Linked DNA regions of Homo sapiens: all the other regions are linked to region 1. Evidence: promoter capture Hi-C in human tissues and cell types (Jung and others, 2019). All regions are on one chromosome and are shown on one strand. The core of a region is centred on a gene start or on the middle of the fragment in contact, and the rest is flanking DNA. Distances in the headings are between cores, read along the strand shown. Region 1 holds the start of SIM2 (SIM bHLH transcription factor 2). Region 2 overlaps HLCS (holocarboxylase synthetase). Region 3 has its middle 86 kb from the start of SIM2. Region 4 overlaps HLCS (holocarboxylase synthetase).

Region 1 (5,972 bases), core at 1,171-3,670:
CCTACCTGGGAAACCTCGAGGTGCGGTGCCCGTGTACTTCTGGTACTTTGCGTGGTGCCATCAGGGACCCCAGAGCCACAGCTGCGTGTGTGTGTGGATGTGTGTGTGTGTGTGCGCGCGCGCGCGTGTACGGCGAAAGGATGTGCTTGGGGGAGCCGAGTACACAACGTCTGCTTGGGCAGCTGCTGGGCAGGCGTTGGGCCTGGAGGTATCTCACACCCACGTATCTTCCAGTCTTCAAACACGGCATTGCTCTGCCTCCCGTAGCGCGCTTCGAACCTGCCTCGCGGACACGTGAACAGAGGCTGTCCCTGGGAAGATAAGTGCGCTTTCCCGTAAAATCCGGGAAATTTGCCTTGAGGAAAGTTTCCGTTCTTGTTACTTGTCGGGTTTCTCCCACTTCCACTTAGCCATGTTTCTGCGATCTGGGTAATCCCTTTCAAGCCCAGGAGGAATTCTCCCGGGTCCATAATTGAGGGTCGGAAGCCGTGGGGGTGAGAAACGCATTAAATCCTCCCGAAGCCCAGGAGGTGCCAGAGCGGGCTCAGGGGGCCGCCTGCGGAAGCTGCGGCAGGGGCTGGGTCCGTAGCCTCTAACCCCTTGGAGCTCCTTCTCCCAGAGGCCCGGAGCCGGCAGCTGTCAGCGCAGCCAGGAGCGGGATCCTGGGCGCGGAGGTGGGTCCGACTCGCCAGGCTTGGGCATTGGAGACCCGCGCCGCTAGCCCATGGCCCTCTGCTCAAGCCGCTGCAACAGGAAAGCGCTCCTGGATCCGAAACCCCAAAGGAAAGCGCTGTTACTCTGTGCGTCCGGCTCGCGTGGCGTCGCGGTTTCGGAGCACCAAGCCTGCGAGCCCTGGCCACGATGTGGACTCCGCAAGGGGCTAGGGACAGGCAGGGGGAGAGCCCGGGTTTGCGCACACCTTCCAGCCCCTGGAGGGAGCCTGCTCGGCTTCGAACGCCTTCGAACTTTTGACCTTCAAAGGAGTCCCTGGAAAAGGTCAGGAGCGCCTGCTGCAGGCACGGTTGCCGAAGGCCAGGCCTTCCTGGCGCAGGGGAGGGCCAGGGGAGGGAAGCGGATACTCAGTCGCTGTCCGACGGCGAGTTTTCGGAGCAGCAGGCTCATGATCCCGGGCCAGTGGCGAGAGCAGTGACACCGAGAACCCAAATCTCCGCGCCCCCATCCGCGGCCCGGTGTCCTCCCGGCCCCTGCTGACCTCCAGGTCACGCACCCCACTGCTCCACGGCTCTGCAGCCTGTGGCACACGGCCGAGAGTCCCCACATGATCTCGACGCCAAGGTAAGGAATTGCCCTGCGTCCTCTGAGCCTGTCTCTGGCCTGGGGGGCCGGGAAAGCTGCACTCCTGGAAGAGGTGGGGTTATGTGACCGCCGCTGCAGGGGTGCGCGGAGGACTCCTGGGCCGCACACCCATTTCCAGGCTGCGGGAGCCGGACAGGGGAGGGCAGAGGGGGGACAAAAGGACTCTTTAGGTCCAAAATGACCCTGAAGGAGAGTCCAGAATGCCCAGTGGCCGCGTCTGCAACGGAGTCTTCTTTCTCCAATTGCCTTCTGCCCCATCACCATGGGCCCCACCTGCGCCACCTGCGCCCACCCTGTGACCCTGGCTCAGCGACCTTGGCCCTTAATCGCCCAACGCCGATTCCTCAAAATTCCGGCTGCGCTGAATCGGGCTGCTTTTGCCGCCGCCCCGGCAGTTGGGCCCTGTTTCCGCCGGCGCCCTGGGAGAGGCCTCACCACTCGGCTGGGCTCCCTGGCCCCTCCCTTCCCCTGGCCTGAGCGCCCCTGCGGCCTCCCGCTCCTCCTGAGAAGGCGACAATCTCTTTGCACCTTAGTGTTTCGAGGACAGAAAGGGCAGAAGGGTCACTTCGGAGCCACTCGCGCCGTTTTCACGTGTGTGTGTAATGGGGGGAGGGGGGCTCCCGGCTTTCCCCTTTTCAGCTCTTGGACCTGCAACACCGGGAGGGCGAGGACGCGGGACCAGCGCACCCTCGGAAGGCTCGATCCTCCCCGGCAGGGCGCCTGGCCAACGAGTCGCGCCGCCTCCTCTCGGCCGCGCCTGCTGGTGACCTTCCCGAGAGCCACAGGGGCGGCCTCGGCACCCCTCCTTCCCTCGCCCTCCCTGCCGCCCATCCTAGCTCCGGGGTCCGGCGACCGGCGCTCAGGAGCGGGTCCCCGCGGCGCGCCGTGTGCACTCACCGCGACTTCCCCGAACCCGGGAGCGCGCGGGTCTCTCCCGGGAGAGTCCCTGGAGGCAGCGACGCGGAGGCGCGCCTGTGACTCCAGGGCCGCGGCGGGGTCGGAGGCAAGATTCGCCGCCCCCGCCCCCGCCGCGGTCCCTCCCCCCTCCCGCTCCCCCCTCCGGGACCCAGGCGGCCAGTGCTCCGCCCGAAGGCGGGTCTGCCATAAACAAACGCGGCTCGGCCGCACGTGGACAGCGGAGGTGCTGCGCCTAGCCACACATCGCGGGCTCCGGCGCTGCGTCTCCAGGCACAGGGAGCCGCCAGGAAGGGCAGGAGAGCGCGCCCGGGCCAGGGCCCGGCCCCAGCCGCCTGCGACTCGCTCCCCTCCGCTGGGCTCCCGCTCCATGGCTCCGCGGCCACCGCCGCCCCTGTCGCCCTCCGGTCCGGAGGGGCCTTGCCGCAGCCGGTTCGAGCACTCGACGAAGGAGTAAGCAGCGCCTCCGCCTCCGCGCCGGCCGCCCCCACCCCCCAGGAAGGCCGAGGCAGGAGAGGCAGGAGGGAGGAAACAGGAGCGAGCAGGAACGGGGCTCCGGTTGCTGCAGGACGGTCCAGCCCGGAGGAGGCTGCGCTCCGGGCAGCGGCGGGCGGCGCCGCCGGGTTGCTCGGAGCTCAGGCCCGGCGGCTGCGGGGAGGCGTCTCGGAACCCCGGGAGGCCCCCCGCACCTGCCCGCGGCCCACTCCGCGGACTCACCTGGCTCCCGGCTCCCCCTTCCCCATCCCCGCCGCCGCAGCCCGAGCGGGGCTCCGCGGGCCTGGAGCACGGCCGGGTCTAATATGCCCGGAGCCGAGGCGCGATGAAGGAGAAGTCCAAGAATGCGGCCAAGACCAGGAGGGAGAAGGAAAATGGCGAGTTTTACGAGCTTGCCAAGCTGCTCCCGCTGCCGTCGGCCATCACTTCGCAGCTGGACAAAGCGTCCATCATCCGCCTCACCACGAGCTACCTGAAGATGCGCGCCGTCTTCCCCGAAGGTGAGGCCTCAGGTGGGCGGCCGGGGACGCTGGGGAGCCCGGCGGCCCCGGCCCAGGCGGGAAGCGCAAGCCAGCCCGCCCAGAGGGGTTGCCGCGGCCTGGCGTCCAGAGCTGGGGCGTCTGAGGGAGGTTGCGTGAGGGTCTTCGGCTTCGGCGCTGGCTTGGGGCGAGGGGCCAGGGCCTTGGCGGCCCAGGCGACCAAACCCTCTCCTGGTCCAGGGCTGGGTGAGGGCGAATTACGAATTGTTCCAGGGGCAGGCAGTCCCCCAGCCCGCACGGCCAGCGAGTTCTTTCTGGTTTTGTTCTTTCTCCCTTTCCTCCTTCCTTCCTTCGCCAGTGCATTCTGGTTTGGTTTGGATTTTTTTCTCTCTTTCTTTCCTTTCTTTCTTTCTTTCTCTTTCTTTTTCTTTCTTTCTTCCTCTTTCTTTCATTCTCCCCTTCCTTCCTTCCTTGGCCCCCTCTCTCCCTCCCTCCTTCCTTCCTTCCTTTGCCAATGCATTGGTTTGTTTTCTTTCCTTTTCTGCTTTCCTTCCTTTCTTTGGAAGTTCACTCTGGTTTTGCTTTCTTTCTTTCCCCATCCCTTCCTTTCTTTATCCCTCCTTCCCTTCCTCCTTTTCTTTCTACGATTCCCTTTATTTTTCCTTCATTCCTCCCTCTTTTTGTCTCTTCTGGAGGAGGTGAAGGAGGGTCAGCTTCAGGCGCTGCGAGTCAGCGGGGATCACGGTGAGGCCCAAGCACTGCAGGCTGAGGCCACAGAGCGAACACTTGTGCTGAGCCGGGCCCTCTCGTGAGGCTGGGGTGCGGGAAGTCCGGGCAGGAGAGACCCGCCCCCGCCGTTGCTGAGCTGAGACCCGGCTGAAAGAGAGGGGTCCGATTAATTCGAAAATGGCAGACAGAGCTGAGCGCTGCCGTTCTTTTCAGGATTGAAAATGTGCCAGTGGGCCAGGGGCGCTGGGACCCGCGGTGCGGAAGACTCGGAACAGGAAGAAATAGTGGCGCGCTGGGTGGGCTGCCCCGCCGCCCACGCCGGTTGCCGCTGGTGACAGTGGCTGCCCGGCCAGGCACCTCCGAGCAGCAGGTCTGAGCGTTTTTGGCGTCCCAAGCGTTCCGGGCCGCGTCTTCCAGAGCCTCTGCTCCCAGCGGGGTCGCTGCGGCCTGGCCCGAAGGATTTGACTCTTTGCTGGGAGGCGCGCTGCTCAGGGTTCTGGTGGGTCCTCTGGGCCCAGGAGCTGGGAGGGCTGCGCCGGCCTCTGGAGCCCCGGGAGCCAGTGCCGAGGTAGGGAGACAACTTCCGCCGCAGGGCGCCGGACGGTCGGGGCAGAGCAGGCGACAGGTGTCCCTAGGCCGCAGGGCGCTTCCATAGCGCCATCCCCACCAGGCACTCTACTCGAAATCGGAAAGCTCGACCTTTTGCGTTCGCCTCTGCCAAGCCTGTTATTTGTGCTGGCCGCTGGGTCTGGAGCTGCGCTTCTCGGCCCCTCCCCGGTGGAGCGCAGAGGGCTGGTCTGCAAGCGCGGCCTCCAGCCCCGCGGCTCCCCGGCCCAGGAGCCAGGCGCGGGCTGACCCGGGAGCACCCGGCAGCGGAGGGGGCTGGAAGCGGACCCTAGGCCTCTCCTGTGCCACCCGGCCCTACCGCGCGGCCGCGGGGCGCTCTCCTCTCGGGCGCAGCGGTCCTTCAGCCCAGGGCAGGTTCCTCCCTTTCCTACTCGGAACGTGGCAAAGATACCCCAGTCCCAGCCCCTCCAGCTGAGAGCTGTTGCCCAAGGTCGTCGCTACTTGTCCGCTCAATGGTGACCCCTTGGCAGAGAACTAGGGATGATTCCACTCCGGTTGATGTTTTAGGGGAAATTAAAAGAACATTCGGTTTTCTGAGTCTCCTTCCGGGGAGGCGTGGTGGTAACTGGTTTGCTGGGAAGAGCCGTTCCTTAACCGCATGCAACAAAGCAGGTGTGGAATCCGGACGAGAGGGCACTCACTGCCTTCTGCCCCCTTTGGAAATAGAAAAAGCCTTCGAAGCAGCAATCCAAAGATCAAATGATTTGCGGTCAATGATTTCAATTAAACCAGAAATTAGTAAGGGAGGGCCGAGAAGACACGGCTGCTCAGAAGCTGTTCGCTGTTTGAGGGATTTCCCGGAGAGCCTGTTAAAAGATGCGAAGTGGTGGGTGTACCGCTCAGCCACCTTTAAACCGGCTCTGTGCGTTCTGGCTCTGGAAAGCAAGTCTCCAGGCATTTGGGCTCAGAATTGCTGGGCCCCGAGTTTGGGCGGGGGTGGTCCTTCTGGGGGTCAGGCCTTGAGCAGCTTGCACTGGTGGCAGGTTTGGGAGCAGTTGAGGGGCTTCCTGTGTGTCTTTTGGAGGGGGTGACCCTGGAAGTTGGCACTCTGGAAGGGAGCTGTTTGGCCCTAGAGTTTTGGAAAGGGCCCTGAACCTGTTCGGTCCCCCTCGGAAAGGGAAGGGAGCAGTGGCTTAGTCCCTCCCTCCTCCATTCGTGCAATGCCTGGGGTAGGGGTAGACCTGGAGCCGGTGGACTCATATCCTTGGAATTCGTCAGGACAGCTGCTCCGGGGCCTTGGCCCTCAGTCAGTCTGGGGCTGAGGAGTAGGGAAGCTGGGAACTTGGGGCAGAGGAAGAAGATGCGTTTAGAAAGACCTCCATTATGCAAACTGGAGTCCATTTATGCAAACTGGTCACCCTTCCAGTAGCTCCAAAGAGTGGCAGTGGAGTGGCATCTTGATTGATTTAA
Region 2 (5,972 bases), core at 1,337-3,836, 94 kb after region 1:
TCTGCCCAGGAAGGCAGGTCAGAAGCTGCTATTAACCACTCTGGCAGGGCAGTGTTTCTGTCAGCCTGCAGAGCACTTCAGGTTCTGGGAGCAGCTGATGGCAGAACTGTGGTGTTCTCTCCGTGGAAAAAAAATGAGGAAGTCAGCAAAATGTTCTTAAGCCATTCCGTCCACCATTTTGTCCATCTGTGTTGATTTGGCAGTGGTGTTGGCAAAGAACCTGGGTGTAGGACAATGTGCTTTGTAAACAGAAGAAAATGAAATGATAGATGCAGGGGTGCCTTTGTTTGAGCTTGCTTGTATTTAAAGTTGGCTAAATATGCCTCAGCAGAGATCTTTGGGGACATGAATCATAATAGAAAAAAACAGCAACATATAGGCTTGTCCAAAATAAAACCTGCTCACCGTGCCTCAGGTAACCCTAAGAAGCGTCCTCTGTTGTAAAAACAATTCAAATACATACCAAGTAGCAAGAATCGCATAAGGAAACCCCACATAGGATGTCCGGGGCAACAACATGCAGACCCCCACCCCTGCCGGAGCCGAGTACACACCAACCCACACATCCAGGGCTCTGGGCAGCGGTGACTGTTCAGTGAGACCGCTTTCAGCATTTGCGAGAAGCTGCTCACCAACTGCCAAGTTCCTGCTGGGTCGGCCAAGAGGTATGAACCAAAAATGAAAAAACATGAAAGGTTTGTTTTTTAAAGGCAATACATCAAACATAAAAAGAGCCCTTTTGTATGAATTTTCAGTGTGGGAGCCAGAGAGGAGAAAAAATCATTTTCCCTCCTGGGAGGAAGCAGTTTGACCTCACCTGCGACTTTTCTCTTACGGTGTGGATTTTTCTCACCCCATTAAATGTAACCTACTCTAGGTGGGTTAGTACCATGTGAGAGAAATAGGGGGTGATGGGGAATATGGCAGACAGGCAGGCTGGGGCTCAGACAGAATGCCGAGCACCCTCGAGGGTGGGCCCTCGAGGGCCACGGAAGCGGGTGCCACGGGGCTGCATGGAATGCGGCTGCTCCAAGGGGCCTGTTTGCTGGACACACAAGGATTAAGTTTCCATGGCTCCAAAACCCTTGCAGCCTCCCACCCCACCCCCGGCAAAAGCACTCTTTGCAAAAGGAAAGGAAAAAAGAACAACCAAGTTAGAATGGGGTTATCTTCTTACCACTTTCACAAAGAAAGGGCTGGCTGGGATGGACACAGCAGGTTTCCCACTGTGAAGCCATCAGAAAGGCAGCGGAAAAAAACCTCATGGCAGTTAGGTGTGGGCCAGCCACACAGACAGGAACAAGCGAGCTTTCAAACCTAGAAGGTGAGTGCGCTACCTGTCAGCGTTCACAGGACTTTGCTCTGAAGAACAGTAAAAGACCATCTCAGCACCGGGTCCCTAAATCCCCTTCCCATTAACCAGGTGCCAATAGTGAAACCTAGAAGGGGACCCTGGTAAATCACCCGGCGGCTACCCCGCAGGCTCCCAGCGCTACGCTCTGGGGACCGTCAGCCTTTTCTTCTGTCACACAGCAGGAGAATGAGCTCACTTTGGCATCTGTGTGACCAGGGACGGCTGCCATCTGTGTGTCACTGTTATCAGTGGTCAGAGCAGAAGTAGCAGGTGGAACCATGTGAAATCCCTAACATTCAACCGTTTAGACCTGCAAAAATGGCTCTTTCCTTCGATTTACCCTGATGATGACAAGAAAAGGAGAAGGGGGGGAGGGAAGGGAGAGGGGGAGGGAAGGGATGGAAGGGAAGGGAGCGGGGGGAGGAGGAGGACGACCATGATCATCAGCCAATTGTGCTACGTCAGTCCAGAGTGAGCTGCTACTTATGATTTCATTTCCTCCTTAGACTGATGGGAGCAATGACAATCCCCATTTGTAGATGAGGCACCTGCTCAGAGAACTGAAGTTACTCATCCAGGGTCACATGGCTGTCAAGAGGCATGCCCAGTACCTATGACAAACATTCATCCCCAAGTAACGAAGCCAACAACCTGTGTCTCACTCCAGAACCACAGAGCTGTTACAACACGTGGTGCCTCCTGAGCCAGCAGCCAGGGGCAAGAACGAGAGGATGCAGGGAGAGGCTCTGGGGAAAGGGCTGTGTCCCCTCAGTCATGTGACCCCCAGGCTTTCTAGAGTGACTCATGGTGAGGACAGCAAAGATCTCAAAATGCTGTCTAGACCTTAACTCTGCCCATCACCCCATCCATTTGGTTTTGTTTCCCTTTCATTTGCATGTGTAGTCACATGCTCAGCATCCTTGGGGGCAGCTGCATCTGTGGTCCTCCAGAACCCCAAGCTTTGCAGTTGGACTTGAACCCCTCATGCGCTTTTGATTCCTGATTAAATAACCTGATTCGAGTTGTTGAGATCTTTAGTTTACATCAAATAATTCTTCTTTCTATTGCTCCATTCACTTCTGCACATTGCCTTAGGTACCGATTCATTTTCTCTACGACCCCCGCTGCTTACATGAGTTCTAAGATCATCCACAGGTGTGTGCCTGTCGGAGGGCTCGGAGAACACGGGACAGCAGGAAGCAGTCTTTTTTTTTTTTTTTTTTGAGATAGAGTCTCGCTCTGTTGCCCAGGCTGGAGTGCAGTGGCGCAATCTTGGCTCACTTCTACCTCTGCCTCCTGGGCCCCAGTTCAAGCAATTCTCCTTCCTCAGCCTCCCAAGTAGCTGGGATTACAGGCATGCACCACCATGCCCAAATAATTTTTGTATTTTTAGTAGAGACAGAGTTTCTCCATGTTGGCCAGGCTGGTCTTGAACTCCGGACCTTGTGATCCACCCGCCTCGGCCTCCCAAAGTGCTGGGGTTACAGGTGTGAGCCACCGCGCCCAGCCAGGATGCAATCTTATTGGTGTGTCACTTTTAGCCCAAGAAGCAAAAAAGTGGAGTGAGTAAGCTGGTAGGATCAACTGTTATTTTTATATTAAAACAAACATGTACCAGAATTATGGAGTAAAAATTATGCAAAATTTACAAGCATGTTAGAGATAAATCAGACCTTAAAGAAATTTAGTGCTAGTCAGAAGCTACATAAATGGTCAGGCATGTGGCTGCTGGTGCAATATTGTCCCTTTACGGCCAAGAGACCTCAGACAAGTTACTTAACCTCTCCCATCGAAAGCATCTCTCATGAAGATGCTGCTTCAGTCATAGGGTTGTCAGGAGGATATACCAAGTTAGTGCCTATGTGGACAGCTGTTTAGAAGCCTCAGAGCACCCTGTGAATGTGCTTTCAGACCTGCCCTGGATTCTTAGCTTCTACTAAGGACGAGCTACGGGTGTGACTGGGTTACGCTTGGCTCATTCTGGCCTCCCTGCCGCAACTTTTCCAAAGAGGCGATCTCTGAGCTCCTGGGAGCAAACCCATGAGGATACAGATGATTCGGCAACTTTGTGCCAGGCCCTCTCCAGGCTCTGGGGTTGTTTCTGTGAACAAATGCTCTGTCTCTGCACCCAGGGAGCTGGCATTCTAGTATGTGTGTGCAAGGCGGTGGGAGAGAGACATAAATGCATAATGTGTCAATGCAGTGAAAACAAAATACAGCAGATAAGGGGTACAAGGAAGGACAAAGGATGGGGTGTTCAAGTGGTCCCTGAAGGCTGCTGCAATAAGGCATTTGTTCAGAAAGAAGATAGTGAGAGCATACCATGAAGACATGTGACAGAGGACTATTCCAGGCAGAGGCAGCGGCAAGGCCAAAGGCCCTCAGTGGGATTGGAGAGGAACAAAAAGGTGACCGACGTGGCTGAAGCACACTCTGTGCGTATGGGGTTGGGGGGAATAGGAATAAGGGTTATGCTGGTTGGGGGACAGATTTGGAAGTGTGCAGGTCATAGTAAGAACTCTGGATTTTTTACTGAATGAAGTAGGAAGCAACACTGAGCCTTTCTAAGCTAACAGGGATGAGATAACTAAGTTACATTTTAAAGGAATTCACCTGGCTGCCACATGGAAAACAGCCTGGTGGAAGGAAGAAAGAGATGTGTTCTGCACATTTTGAAAGTGGAACAAAGAGGACCTGATGATGAACTGAGCTCCTGAAAGGAAGATGGAGTCAAGGGTGAGTTCACGACTTCTGGCACACACAACTCAAGGAAAAAGCGATGTGCCGTTTCCCAAAAGCAGGAGGCAAGGGCTGAGCAGGCTGGAGGGTGGAATCTGGTGCTGGACTTAGATGTAGCAAGCATAAGATGCCTATGAGACAGCCCACGGAATCCAAGCAGAAGTCTGGAGTGGGAGGGAGAGGTCTGGGCTAGGATATTCATTTGGGAATCATTATCGTGGAGATGGTTCTTAGAACCATGGGACCAGGAGAGGTCAGCCAGCGAATGAGTTGGGCTGGAGAGGGGAAGACGTCTGATTAACCTGACTTTGTTCTCTGGCAAAGGCACCAGGTTGAGAATTCAGAAACTCATATCCCTGGTTTCTTTTTAGCAAACACGAAGCATGGTGACCAAGCCATGTCATCACACTGGAACCGCAAAAAAGAGAAGAAAGGAAATGCGCTTCGTCTTCTGCGAGGACACATTGACGGTGCTCAGCTAGCCAGCATCTAGGTCCCACAGAGGGCAGGAGGGATCCGGAAACACTGAGGTCCCCTCCTGAGAGGCTCATGCCCTCACATACTTTCTTAATATAATCAAAATGGGAGTAAATGATGACAATATGCAACTTTCCAAATACTGAGGGTTCTGGACCAAGCTACTGAAACAGATTTCATAGTTGCTATGCTCCATACTCTGCCTAGCATACGGTAGTCATTTTATAAACATTTGACAAATAGTTATATTTCTAACAGAAACCAGAAATTTGGGGCCATGACTCCTTTACAGCTCAAGAAATATGCAAAATTAGTATTCCCTGAGAGACAGATGTCTGAAGGCCCCAAGCAGTCCAACCCTGTCCTGTCATAGCCTGAGACATCCTGCCTTAGGGAGTAAGTTATTACTAACTGTGGACAAGCTCTGTTTCCCTTTTGGAGGAACTGAGGGCAGAGATCCTGCCATTAATTCCTCCCCCAGTGCCTGGGATAGTGCCCTGTGCACAGCAAATGCCCAATACATCTAAATAAATGTCAAATGAATGAGCGAATAAATATTCATTAAAAATTAACCAAACAGTTAATTTAGGTCATTCAGTGGAAAAAAGAAAAACAGTGAAACTAGAAAAGCATCTTTTTAATTTAAAAGGTTAATTAAGGACAAGGTTTTAAAAAAATATTTTGGTGGATTTAGTAAACCAAGCACACCTGGGACTCAAAATAGTTGCAATCTGTAACTCTAAACACAGCCCATTATGTCCCACGAATTAGAAAATGAGGGAAAGTTGCCTGACTCGCTTCATGATTCTAGTATAATCTCAATTCTTCAACCAGATAGTGGACAAGAAAATAAAAAACCCCAAACACTTAAACACACAGATGTGAAAATCATGAATAAAATGCTAGTTAACTGAATTCAATGCTACATCTTATGTGTATTATAATCAGATATTGTTTATCCTAGAAATGCAAGGATGGTTTAACATCAGAAAAATGTATCAACATAATACATAACATATGGGTGGGCAAAATGAGGAAAATCACATGATTTTCTGAATAGATGCAGAACAGACATTTGGTAATTTCAGTAGCCCTAGGTCAGTCCAAATGATCTATTAGTCTGATCAATTTAATGATTTTATTAGATTCTCTAATTCCCAAAAGCATATTTCTTTTTACTATTTAAGCATTTTACAGCAATCTGTTTTAGATGTATAAGCAGGGCCCACGAGAGCTGTGAGGAACCAGGACTCGGATAATCCAGGGCGTTGGGAGACTTCCCCAAACCAGGAAATGATCCCATGCACCATCTGAGCCTTCCAGTCTTCCCACAGACTCTACCAAACATTATCGGGGCCACTAACAAAGAAGGAAGAAAAACTACTTTCAATGTTAGCTCTCC
Region 3 (5,972 bases), core at 1,221-3,720, 87 kb before region 1:
CACTTGTGGTAGTTTTTCAAATGGGTTAAAAATCCTTTTGCACTTCTTTCTTTTCAGGTGGGGGGGATGGAGGGGAGAGTAAATCTATGTTCCTGTCCCTTGAATCTGTGTGGACTCTAACTGCCTTGACCACTGGGATATAGGAATGTGACTTTGAGGCTGGGTCATAAAAGGGCATACCTCTCCTTCCTTGTTTATGGGAACACTTGCTCTTGGAGTGCTACCCTGAGACCTCCATACTGGGCAAGTAAGATGGAGCATTCTGCTCCACAGTCCTAGCTGAGCCCAGCCTTCTAGCTATCCCCATCAAGGTGCCAGACATCACAGTCCCTCCAGCCTAACCAACTGGTACCAGCAATGACCTCCATCCATCAACACCATGTGCAACAGAAGAATTGCCCAACTGAGCCCTTCCCAAATTCACAGCACAAAATTGGGGGCTATAATAAAATGATTGTTGTTTTAAGGTATGAATTGTTGGAGTTGTTTGTTACACAGCAACAGATAACTGAGACACTACTCCTACAGTTGCTTATTATTACTACTATTATGATTATTCTTATTAGTATTAAAAGACTGTGCCACTTGAATCTTGCCCTAACTATTTCTGGCTAATAAACTGCCCTTTAAGAAGCTACAGAAATATTCCTTATGAACTGTTGCTCCAGGACTTGTCCAGGAAAATGACTCATCTTATGTGATCTGGCCCCAAAGAACATATCAAGCTCAGTGTACAATAAACACTAGCAAGCCAATATTTGTCTTTTAAAACTCTGAAAAGTTCAAAGCCAAACCAAATGTCAAACTAACAAGCATGCCTCCCATTTTTAAATAAAAAATATAAAACCTAAATTCCTGATTTCCCCTGAATATAGCAGACGTGCCTGGGAGAGCCTGATTCCTGTAACACACCAGCCAAGGAGGAAAGACGCTAATGGTCTTGTGTTCTTTCTACCTGTCAAAGTGAAGGAAAACAACACATTGCTTTTAAACAATATTTATGTAACACTCCCCAGAAGCTGTACCTGCTGAAGTAAACTATAACCTTTCTCTCTTTAAACACCTTTTACTTGTTATTCAAATAGGAAGTTATTCTTTCAGAATTAGCTACATCTGTCAACCTAGCATTCCTGACTGCCACATAGAACGTTCTTACCATATCCCATCTCCTCAATAACTTTCTCTCAAGCTTAATTTCCCCCTAGGTTTCATTTATTTTTGTGAACTCCCTGGGGCTTCCTGACAAAAGAAACCTTTAGGACTGTAGGTAACGGTAGGTAACATGGTCTGCACGTTTAGGGCTATATTTTCTTTTATTAGATTTTTCAACTCAGAGTAAGACAGTGGGACAAATCCACGCTGAAGGCAATTAGGTTTTTATTAATGGTTCCACAGACCCGACGTTTGTTATAAGCCTTAATGCACCAACTTTCTTGTCTCCTTCATGGGTTTAAAAGGTGTCCAGTGTGTTCTCAGATGTGTTTTTGTTGGATGGGCATGGGCTATAGCTCTTTGGCAGGAAAGCGTGGGTTGAGTAGACGAAAATGTACTGGATTCTATCTGCAAAATTCCAAGCACTCACTTCCATTGTTTCCTTATGTGCCATGCATTTATCAGGATGAAACCATCCCCTTTCCTTCACTGATCATTGTTTATAACCGCTTATCCATGGATGGGTGTTCCAGCTTTCGGCCTTGCCTGAAAAACATGCAGATGATTGCAATCTGCATTCTACCTGTAACTAATCCCATCCACAGCCTCTCCCATCTGCCACGGACTCTCCTCCCTGCGACTTTTAGTGATACAGAGTGAGGTTAGTCCTGGCTACTCTCCAGCAGAATTTCACACATAAGGCAAGGGCCAAGCAGAGATGTCCCTTACCCACCCAAGAGAACATGACAGAGAGGGCCACAGTGGGACTCTGGTGGAGGGTAGTTTAAGGAAGAGGAGGGGGCTTCGTTTTCAAGAGAATGAATTCGACCGATCTGGCCCGAGAATGCATTCCTGGCTGCACCTGTGAGGTGTTCGATGAACAAACTGGCTTTGGGTTTTCCTGGATGTCGTCTGATCTGAGTGGAATCCAGAGAGGTGCAATCAGGGTCTTGGAAGACTGAAAGCAAATGGTGGATTGGATGGGTTCATCTTCACTCTGCTTTTTCATCTTTTTCAAATTTGCAAACTGCTCTTTGCATGCCACACAGACACAACCATCACTAGGTCCTCTGCTGAACACCTATGGCGGTCCAGGTCCCACCCAGCAGGCTTCCTGTCAGATTTTCCAGATTTAGCTTCAAAATAGGTCGTATTTATTATGCCCTGCCTAGTTCCAGAAAGGGTTGGAGGCAGCTAACTTAAAAACATAATTATGAAAAGCTGATTCGGCTTCTTATTTGGTTAAAGATGTTTTGCTGTAAATGTGAAAAAATATTTTAAATCCTCTTTTTTATTTTAGAGTGATCTTTGAAGATGATTACCTTATTTTACAAACAGACGTTTCTAATAATTGAATACCATTAAATATCTGTCCAAAAATTTCCTTTTGACCTCAAAATTACAACTAATATATAGTGTTTTTGTTTCTTCCTAACGACAAGGAAATCTGATGTCATTGTGTAAATGATGCAGAAGAAATGTTTTGCATGGGCAAAAGTGCACTATCTCAAGGATTTGGATAAACTTTTATGTCATTGTCCTTGTCTGTGGCACAGTGTGGGGCGGGGGAGGGGGTCCTCTGCTCTGATCCACCCCAACACCCGAATGGTCTTAGTATTTTATATTATATTATATTATATTATATTATTTCATTCAACATTGAGGCACACTGCCTTTTAATTTTTTCCTTCTGTGGACCACTTGAACTCTCGATTTCCCATGGTTTATTAAAATACCCAAATGTCATTCTTTTACTTCGATTTTATAAATAAACCTTTGGCTGTATCTGTCAGGGAGGGCTGAATTTACTAATTCTCAGGCCAAACCAGGCTGTGCTGGGACTCAGTGGCAGTTCGTGGCCATGCAGGCAATTCTGCTGGCCTGGTTGTTGCTGCCGTTTCCTGACGTGCCCTCTGTTCCCTGCCCAAACAACCCTCAGCGTTGGACAGATGAGAGAAAGGAGAAGATAAATGCTCTCCCGTCTGGTGTGGAGATAATGCCTGACCACTCATCCTCCTTCCTGCTTTTATTCCGGGTGTAGATGGTGAGCCTGCCCATGGCCCAGTCTTTCACATGGAGCAGCAGGGCGTTCTCTCCAGTGGGAAGTAGCTCATGTCAGTTTCAATCATTTCCATTCCGGGCATTTTGCAGACCTTGGCTTCTTCTTGAGAAAGGTGAGCAGAGATATCCAGTGCCTCGAGGAGCCCAAAATGCATGATCCTGGTGCCTGTCACAGAGATATCCAGTGCCTCCAGGAGCCCAAAATGCATGATCCTGGTGCCTGTCCCAGGTCTTCCCTCCTGGGTAGAATCTTCTGACCCGAATGTGGGGAAGCACAATGACCCCTAATCGCAAAGGAATGTTGGAGGATCATGCTGTGCACTCACTGCGGAGATGCATGTTTGGATTACGTGTTCTCATTTAGCAGCCGCCCGTTTGACAGGACATACTGCACGCCAGCCCTCTTGTTGACTTAGTTCCTGTACTGGCAAAGCCAAATAAACTGAGTTTGAGGAAGAGTGTGATTCGGGGGGAGAGGGCTGATTGGTGAGGACAGATTGGCGGTGAAGGGGAATTGAGTAGAGCCGTGGCTGCAGCTGTGAAAGAGGTGGGTGCACCCAAGTTCAACCGCATGTGGGCTGCCCACAAGACTACAGGAGCCTGGGTTCTGGAGGCGCTCTATGTCCCCAGGTCGAGGGGCTTAATTTACTGTTGTGTTTTGTTTGTGTAACAAAATATGTAATAGTACCTCATAAAACAAAACAGAAAAAGGAATGAAATCATAGGGTGGTGACTTCTTTCTAAAAAGGACTCCCCATGTTTGGAGCTCTGGGGGCAGGGCATTGTGCTAAGCGACTTTAACACATGGATATCTCTGTGCGGGTGACTTAGTCTGTTTGTGCTGCTATAACAAAATGCCACAGATGATGCAATTTATAAACAATGGAAATTTGTTGCTCAAGTTCTGTAGGCTAAGAAACTCAAGATCAAGATGGGCTGGGCGTGGTGTCTCATGCCTGTAATCCCAGCATTTTGGGAGGCTGTGGCAGGAGGAACACTTGAGCCCAGGAGTTTGAAACCAGCCTGGGCAACACAGTGAGACCCCATCTCTAAAAAAAAAATGTTTTTTAATTCACTGGGCATAGTGGCATGCACCTGTAGTCCCAGGTACTCAGTGGGCTGAGGTGGAAGAATTGCTTGAGCCTGGGAAGTTGAGACCACAGTGAGCTGTATTTGTACCACTGCATTCCAGCCTGGGTGACAAAGTGAGACCTTGTCTCAAAAAATAAAAATAAAAAAGATCAAGGTGGAAGCAGATTCTGTGTCTTGTGATGGCCCATTCCTTGTAGATGGTGACTTCTGTATGTCCTCGCATGGCAGAAGAGGTGAACAATCTTCCTCAGATCCCCCTTTATAAGCTTGCTGCTGTGGTTTGAATGTCTCCCCAAGTTCATGTGTTGGAAACAATCCTTAATGCAACAGTAATGAGAAATGAAAACTTTAAGAGGTGATTAGGTTATAAGGACTCTACCCTCATGCTCATGAATGATTTCACATTATTATCCAGGGAATGGGTTCATTATCAAGAGACTGGATTTGTTATAAAAGCAAGTTCATCCCTCTCTTGTTCCCTCTCTTACTTCATCTATGGGATGATGCAGTGAGAAAGCCCTCACCAGAGGTAGTGCCTTGGTCTTGGACTTCTCAGCCTCCAGAACCATGAGCCAATAAATTTCTGTTCTGTGTAAATTATCCAGTCTCAACTATTCTGTTACAGCAGCATAGAACAGACTAAGATGTCCCTAATCCCCTTCTTAAGGACTCTGCTTTTATGACCTAATTACCTCCTAAAGGCTCCACCTGTTAGTACTATTGCATTGAGGACTAGGTTTCAACTTATAAATTTTAGGGTGACACAAACATACAGACCATAGCATTCTGCCCCAGCCCCCCTAAATTCATGTCATTTTCACATGCAAAATACATTAGTTCCATCTCAATAGCCCCAAAAGTCTTCACTTATTCTAGCATCAACCAAAAATTTAAAGTCCAAAGTCTCATCTAAATTTCATCTAAATCAGATATGGTGAGACTCAAAGTAGGATTCATCCTGAAGCAAATTGCTGTCCAGCTATAAGCCTGTGAAATCAAGCAAGTTATGTGCACCCAGATACAATATTGGGGCAGGCAGAAGACAGACATTCCCATTCCCAAAGGGAAAAATGGGAAGGGAGAAAGGGGCAATAGGACTCAAGTAAGTCCAAACAATGCTAAATCTTCATGCTTGAGACTAACCTCCGCTGACTGCATGTCCTACCTTCTGGACACACTGGGGTGGGATTTGAGGTCACAAGGCTTTGGGGTGGCTTTGCCCCCAAAGCTTCACTGGACCGAGCCCACACTGTAGTTCTCCCAGGTTGGAGTCTCATGCCTGTGGCTCTCCCAGACTGGAATTGCATGTTGATGGTTTCACTAGTCTGGAGTCTAGAAGGCTGCCCCATTCTCACGACTCCCACTAGGCATTGCCCTAGTGAAGGCTCTCTGCAGTGGGCTTGCCCTGCAGGTGCCCCTCTGAGTTCATTGCATGCCAGAGACTGCAGGCGGTTCCATCTTTTGAAATCTAGGTGGCGCCAGCCACACCCCCACAGCTCATGCACTCCGCAGCCTGGTGGATGTGAAGGTTTACTGCCTGTGCTCTCTGAAATCAGAAGATTCCAAACCCCCTGTGCCAGGCAGTATTATTGTGCTAAGGTGGACTGGAAGATCTACTGGCTCTTACCTTTGGTTGGATTATTTGCTAGGGGGCCTCTTGCTTCTCC
Region 4 (5,972 bases), core at 2,242-4,741, 65 kb after region 1:
TTTAGACCTCGGGCTGGCAGCCAGGCTGTGCCATGTGTGGGTAAAGGAAGCCTGTCTGGAGATGCAAGGCTGGAAGAGAACATTCAGCAAAATAAAGCTAAGGGAGCAGAGAGTAGCTGATGGCCTCCAAGGGCCACGGGGCTGGTCTTCCCACGTTGCAGGCCGGGCATGGCACCAAGCACCTTCTCAGCATTAGTCTACGTGTTACTCACACCCAGCCTATGTGTTGGTGCTAGCGCATCCCCAGGGAACAGAGGGAGAAACGGAAGCTTAGAGAAATTATGTGGCTTGCCTGAGGTTATAGCACTTGAAAGCCACGGAGCTAAAATTCAAACCTTTCTGCCACCAGGCCTGGGTGAGGAATCCTATGCTACGCGGCCTGTTGCTTCCATGAAATCCCTTCCTCCTTCCAACAGGCCTTCTTTTGACTTCGGCCCGTTAGAGCATATTGGAAGCTCATCTGCCCTAAAACAGTAGTTTAGGCTGAGAGAAAAAATACAGGAATAGGAGCACAGGAGAACAAAAAGTCTAAGTAAACCAAGCATGGGGGGTGCGCAATGACCCAGAACTGATCAACAGCTTCACGTTTCTTTTCTCTCTAGAACGGGGGTTCTCAGTGGGAGAGGGGTGGATTTGGCGATACTGGGAGACTTCCCTGGTTGTCACAGCCTGAGGGAGTGCTACCGGCGTCTAGAGAGTAGAGGCCGCAATGCTGACACACATCCTTTAAGGCACAGGACATCCCCACGACAAACATGCCAGGGCCCACATATCAATAGCACTGGGCTGAGAAAGTCTCCTCTAGGAAACCTGTGTCTAGGAGGCTCTGCTCTTCATCACTGCCCCCAGTTCCCTTTCCTTCCCCTCTCTCGCCTTCCCACATCCCCCTGTGCCCACCACATGGCCAGGGGAATGAGCCCCTGCCTCGCCGGCGGGAGGACACCTGCAGAGTTCCCAGAGCTGTCAAGCTCCTCCGCCACGTGCGTGGCAGCTGGTGCCTGGGCGGGCCCTGCACTTGGGCTCCAGCTCGCCTTCATGGCTTCAGATCTCCTCGGCTCATGAAGCAGCTCATGAAACTCTGGGTTCTCACGCAGGTAAACAGGACCAGCATTTCCACATGAAGAGGAGGACTGTGTGCTCATTTTTCATTTTCTCAATCATTTATTCCAACAGCTGCTGTGATCCTCCCACATAAAAAAAGACCAAAATGAAACAAATCCTGCTTTTGAAGAGCTGCTAACATCATGGGAGACGGAACAGGTGCACACATCACTCCTCTTCAAAGCCACACGTGGTGGATACCCTAAAAGAGGCTTCAACATGGCAAGTGCTGGACAGTGCTGGAGGAAAGAGCTGGAAGTAGCTGGAGGGTCTGAGAATGGCACTGGAGCTGGGCCTTAAGGATGAACAGAATTTTAAGAAGCAGAGAAGAGAGCAGGGGTAGGGGTGTGTGGGTGGAGGGAGGGTGCGGGGCCCGGGGGGACTTCATGGACAGAAGAAAGAGCAGGAGTGAGAATGGGCGGCCCAAGGCGAGTTCCGGAAGGAATGCCTGCATCCCAGCGAGGCCGCCTTGGGTCTGGGGAGGGTGGTCATGATTTGTGTGCTGACGGTGACATCTGGTTAGGGACCAGTTGGGGTCCTAGTGAAGGCCACACAAAAAGTGAAATCCAAACAACAGGGGCCTATTTCAATCAAAGTAGCTGCACTGTGTCAGCTAACTTGACTATGTTAAAAAAGAAACCCAATTCAAAATCAAATGTCCCATCACACAGGTGAGGCTGGGTAGCTGACTGCAGAAGAGGGAAAGAACATTGGTACAAGCTTCTTAAGGAGAACGGGAACACAAATTCCCCCGACCCCGTTCACCGCTGAAGGCAAGCTTCCCACTTCCATCCTGGCCTCCAGCGCCTGGCGCACGCAGCCTCTGAGCACAGCAGGCCCTCAAAGAATGCTCGCTAAGGGAACTAGTGGGGCTCCAAGGTCAAAGTCAGAGCCATGAAAAAGCTAAACAGACCAAACAGACTCATTTAATGTTCTCGGCTTAGTGTTTGTTTTAGTTATTTTCCTAAGACTAACTTGTTGCTAGAGTTAATTTCTCCCATGACAGGACTTTCTTTCTTCCTTTTTTTGATACGAGTCTCACTCTGTCGTCCAGGCTGGAGTGCAATGGCACAATCTCGGCTCACCGCAACCTCTGCCTCCCGAGTTCAAGCGATTCTTGTGCCTCAGCCTCCCGAGTAGCTGAGATTACAGGCACCCATCACCATGTCTGGCTACTTTTTGTGTTTTTAGTAGAGATGGGGTTTCACCATGTTGGCCAGGCTGGTCTCAAACTCCTGCCCTCCTCAACCTCCCAAAGTGCTGGGATTACAGGCATGAGCCACCGCGCCTGGCCAGGACTTTCTATTTTGATTGCTTCCTGCTAGACAGAATGCACAGCTCAGGTGCTCAAGGCCGGGCACCTGAAGCCCTGTAATGGTGTGATGCCCCCAAACCATCAGATATGCAAGGATGCTGGGTGCCTGGTAGTAAGCGTCCGTTTCAGCGATGTGATGTAATACAGGAAACAGAGACGTCAGCATTAACTACATCTGTGGAATACCAAAAATTCATACACAGCAAATACATCACAGAGGGATTTAAGGGGCAGTGAGAAGGACCTTTTCTTCAATGAAATGATGACAGGACCTCCAAGTCTCCTTTGAGAGTCACGCTCTTAACATCTTGCTTCAGGAATCAATCCAATCATTTCTCTTTAGCCTGACATAGGAGCTGCTGGGGGAGGGAGGCAGGAATCTCCTATTTATACCCATATGAAATTCTTCCAGGAACATTTGGGAGGGGGCTATGGGAAGTGAAGCCCAAGTAGGGAAGAAAATGCTTCGGTCACTGAGCTAATTGTTCCCTGTTGCTTGTCTTTTTAATAACTGACAACAAAACATCCAACAGTAATAAGGAAGCAGGCACACGGGTCCTAATAGCTGGGGGAAGATGGCCCCAAGTGGATCTGCACATTGTATGTGGTCAACAGTGGATAAAGGATAGTTCTGTTAGAGCACAGAGTCTGGTAAACAGAAGTAGGAAATGAGAAAGGTTTTTAGGTCCCCAAATAACCCTTTTCAACAGAAAATGCAGATGAACAACTTCAATCCAGTCCAACAATCAAATCTCATCCAGTGCTTCAAACAAAAAACAAACATGCAGCTGGGCGTGGTGGCTCACGCCTGTAATCCCAACACTTTGGGAGGCTGAGGCGGGCGGATCACAAGGTCAAGAGATTGAGACCATCCTGGCCAACATGGTGAAACTCCATCTCTACTAACAACACAAAAACTAGCTGTGTGTGATGGTGCACACCTGTAGTCCCAGCTACTCAGGAGGCTGAGGCAGGGGAATTGCTTGAACCCTGGAGGCGGAGATTGCAGTGAGCCGAGATGGCGCCACTGCACTCCAGCTTGGTGACAAAGTGAGACTCTGTCTCAAAAAAATAAATACATAAGTAAACATGACCAGGTGCAGTGGCTCATGCCTATAATCCCAGAACTTTGGGAAGCTGAAGCAGGCAGACTGCTTGAGCTCAGGACTTCAAGACCAGCCTGGGCCACATGGTGAAACCCCATCTCTACTAAAAATACAACAAAAGAGCCAGGGGTGGTGGTGTGTACCTATGGTCCCAGCTACTCGGGAGGCTGAGGTGTGAGGATTGCTTAAGACTGGAAGGTGGAGGTTGCAGTGAGCCGAGATAGTGCCACTGCACTCCAGCGTGGGTGACAGAGTGAGACCCTGTCTCAATTAAAATAAATAAATAAACAACAACAAAAACCAAAAACTAAAGCGTTGCCCTCATCAGGCTGTTTGAGAAATCTGAAAAACTGGGTAGAAAGGGAGTTCTGGGGAATGAATGCATTCAGGCAAGCCTGAAGCAGCATTAGCACCTGGTGGTGCTCTGAAAACTCCGAGAGCACTTTGCTGCCAGCTGTGCAAAGGGTAGGCTGAGGTTCTACAGCCACCAATTATGCAAGCACATGCTATAAACAAGAATAAGCCAGATTCTGCATGCATCCCAGGGACATAGAAGGAGACTGAACTGTACCTACCTGATACTCGGGAATGGACCTCACTGCTTCCACGACAGCCACGGACATCAGATGCTGGACAAACGGGATCCTCTGTCCCAGCTGGGATCTCAGTGGAATGGAGATGAGCAGAGTAGAAAGAGCACATCCCACAGGGCTCAGCCACACATTCCCTCCCCGTCCTGGAACACAGGCCACAGTGGGAAACATGCTACCTTGCCACGTGGACAGACGCAGACACACGTCATGCCAGGGCCACACACTCAAATAAATCTGAACTTATTACAATGCTTATTGTATTACAACGCTTATTATATTCTGGGCTTAATAAAAGAAAAGCTTTTTAAAATCTGAAGCTCTGTTGCTGAAAAAGTTTCCAATAATTAGCATAATGTTCTGCTTCTGTGAGCATATCATTTGTGCCTTGATGACTCAGAGTCTTACAGCGTCTGAACATGACTATATGACTATAGGTTTAATTCCCAGCATATGGTCATGAAGGCAAACACAGACATTGGGAAACTGAACTGAATCTATACTGATCCATGAGAGGTCCTGGAAGCCACTGTTTAGAAGCAATTCCTATTGTGGCGATGGTTGCTCAGCCCAGCAAATATGCCATTAAATAAGAGCCACAGAACTGTGTACTTTATTTATTTTTATTATTATTTTTTAAGATGGAGTCTCACTATGCCACCCAGGTTGGAGTGCAGTGCGTGTGATCTCAGCTCACTGCAACCTCTGCCTCCTGGGTTCAAGTGATTCTCCTGCCTCAGCCTCCCAAGTAACTGGGATTAAGGTGCCCGCCACCATTCCCAGGTAAGTTTTGTATTTTTAGTAGAGACAGGGTTTCACCATGTTGGTCAGGCTGGTCTTGAACTCCTGACTTCAAGTTATCTGCCCGCCTCGGCCTCCCAAAGTGTTGGGATTACAGGCATGAGCCACCACGCCCAGCCACACTTTAAATGGAGGAATTATATTTCAATAAAGCTGTTTAAAAAGGGATTCCTGATATTAACTGAGTTGTTATTTTTCTTTACTTCCTTTCTTTCTTCCTTTTTATTTTTGAGACAGGGTCTTGCTCTGTTGCCTAGGCTGGAATGCAGTGGCGTGATTACAGCTCACTGGGCTCAAGTGATGCTCCCACCTCAGGCTCCCAAGTAGTTGGGACTACAGGTGAGTACCACCATGCCCGGCTGATTTTTGTATTTTTTTTAAGAGATGGGTCTTGCTAAGTTGTCCCAGCTGGTCTTGAACTCCTGGGCTCAAGTGATCTTCTGCCTTGGCCTCTCAAAGTGGTGGGATTATAGGCATGAGCCACTATGCCTGGCCTACTTTTCTTAAAATTGAAGTTAGAAAAATAGAAGAATCCAAATGAGAGGTAGAGTTCATCAAAGTTCTTCTTGAATGTCTTTTTCAAAAAACAAAAAAAAAATCCACATATTGAGATCCATAGCTTTTGACAAAAACATTTTTTTTTTCCATTTGAATTATATTTGAAAGACATGGTTCAGGAGAAAGAAGTGGAGAACAGCAGATTTCTTATTTCTTTGGTTCTTATGAAAAAGTCATAAGAGGCTGTGAGAGTGAGAAGCACATGTGGGTGAGCCTGGCACTGGCTGGAGCAGGGAGGGGCCAAGCCCCGTGGAGCAGCCCCTGTACAGGGTCAGACCCCAGATGGGTCTGGGAGGATGTGGGCTCTCGTCTCCGGGATCTGCAGGTGGTGGAGCCCTGGGCAGCGCTCTGCTTCTCTGTGGTCACTGTGTGAATGGGCACTGATGCAGAGCCCACCATGTACATGCAAGCCCAGCCCAGGGCCAGCTGGGGTGAGAACTGGCATGCAAAAGGCCTCCCACATGACGCTCAGTACAGACACAGAAGGCTCCTTATGGAGAA

What was found. Contacts are between HindIII fragments. The study calls those that stand out against the background at their distance.
Region 2: a contact is called between a fragment that was not itself captured here and the fragment with the promoter of SIM2 in region 1, in 3 of the 25 tissues and cell types used here (IMR-90 fibroblasts, heart left ventricle and spleen).
Region 3: a fragment that was not itself captured here is called in contact with the fragment with the promoter of SIM2 in region 1 in 3 of the 25 tissues and cell types used here (IMR-90 fibroblasts, aorta and dorsolateral prefrontal cortex).
Region 4: a contact is called between a fragment that was not itself captured here and the fragment with the promoter of SIM2 in region 1, in 3 of the 25 tissues and cell types used here (H1 embryonic stem cells, dorsolateral prefrontal cortex and stomach).

The regions. Positions count from the first base shown.
Region 1 is chr21:36,696,695-36,702,666 of GRCh38, forward strand. It overlaps SIM2 (SIM bHLH transcription factor 2), which reads left to right and starts at 2,421. Exons shown (of 11, transcript NM_005069.6): 1 at 2,421-3,227. The coding sequence starts at 3,053. LOC105369308 (a long non-coding RNA gene) reads right to left here and starts at 2,297. Exons shown (of 3, transcript NR_188246.1): 1 at 2,215-2,297. It overlaps LOC107985492 (a long non-coding RNA gene), which reads left to right and starts at 3,822. Exons shown (of 4, transcript XR_001755029.1): 1 at 3,822-5,972. RefSeq lists enhancers at 3,648-4,241, 4,242-4,834. The HindIII fragment of the contact is 19,577 bases long and covers 1-5,972 here.
Region 2 is chr21:36,790,737-36,796,708 of GRCh38, forward strand. All of the region lies in intron 6 of HLCS (holocarboxylase synthetase), which reads right to left. It overlaps LOC105369305 (a long non-coding RNA gene), which reads left to right. Exons shown (of 2, transcript XR_937700.3): 1 at 1-5,972. Among named protein-coding and RNA genes, the nearest start is that of SIM2, 95 kb to the left of the region's middle. The HindIII fragment of the contact is 5,536 bases long and covers 1-5,354 here.
Region 3 is chr21:36,609,687-36,615,658 of GRCh38, forward strand. No RefSeq gene overlaps it. Among named protein-coding and RNA genes, the nearest start is that of SIM2, 86 kb to the right of the region's middle. The HindIII fragment of the contact is 5,164 bases long and covers 1-5,052 here.
Region 4 is chr21:36,760,915-36,766,886 of GRCh38, forward strand. HLCS (holocarboxylase synthetase) reads right to left here. Exons shown (of 11, transcript NM_001352514.2): 8 at 4,098-4,258. Among named protein-coding and RNA genes, the nearest start is that of SIM2, 65 kb to the left of the region's middle. The HindIII fragment of the contact is 4,893 bases long and covers 1,046-5,938 here.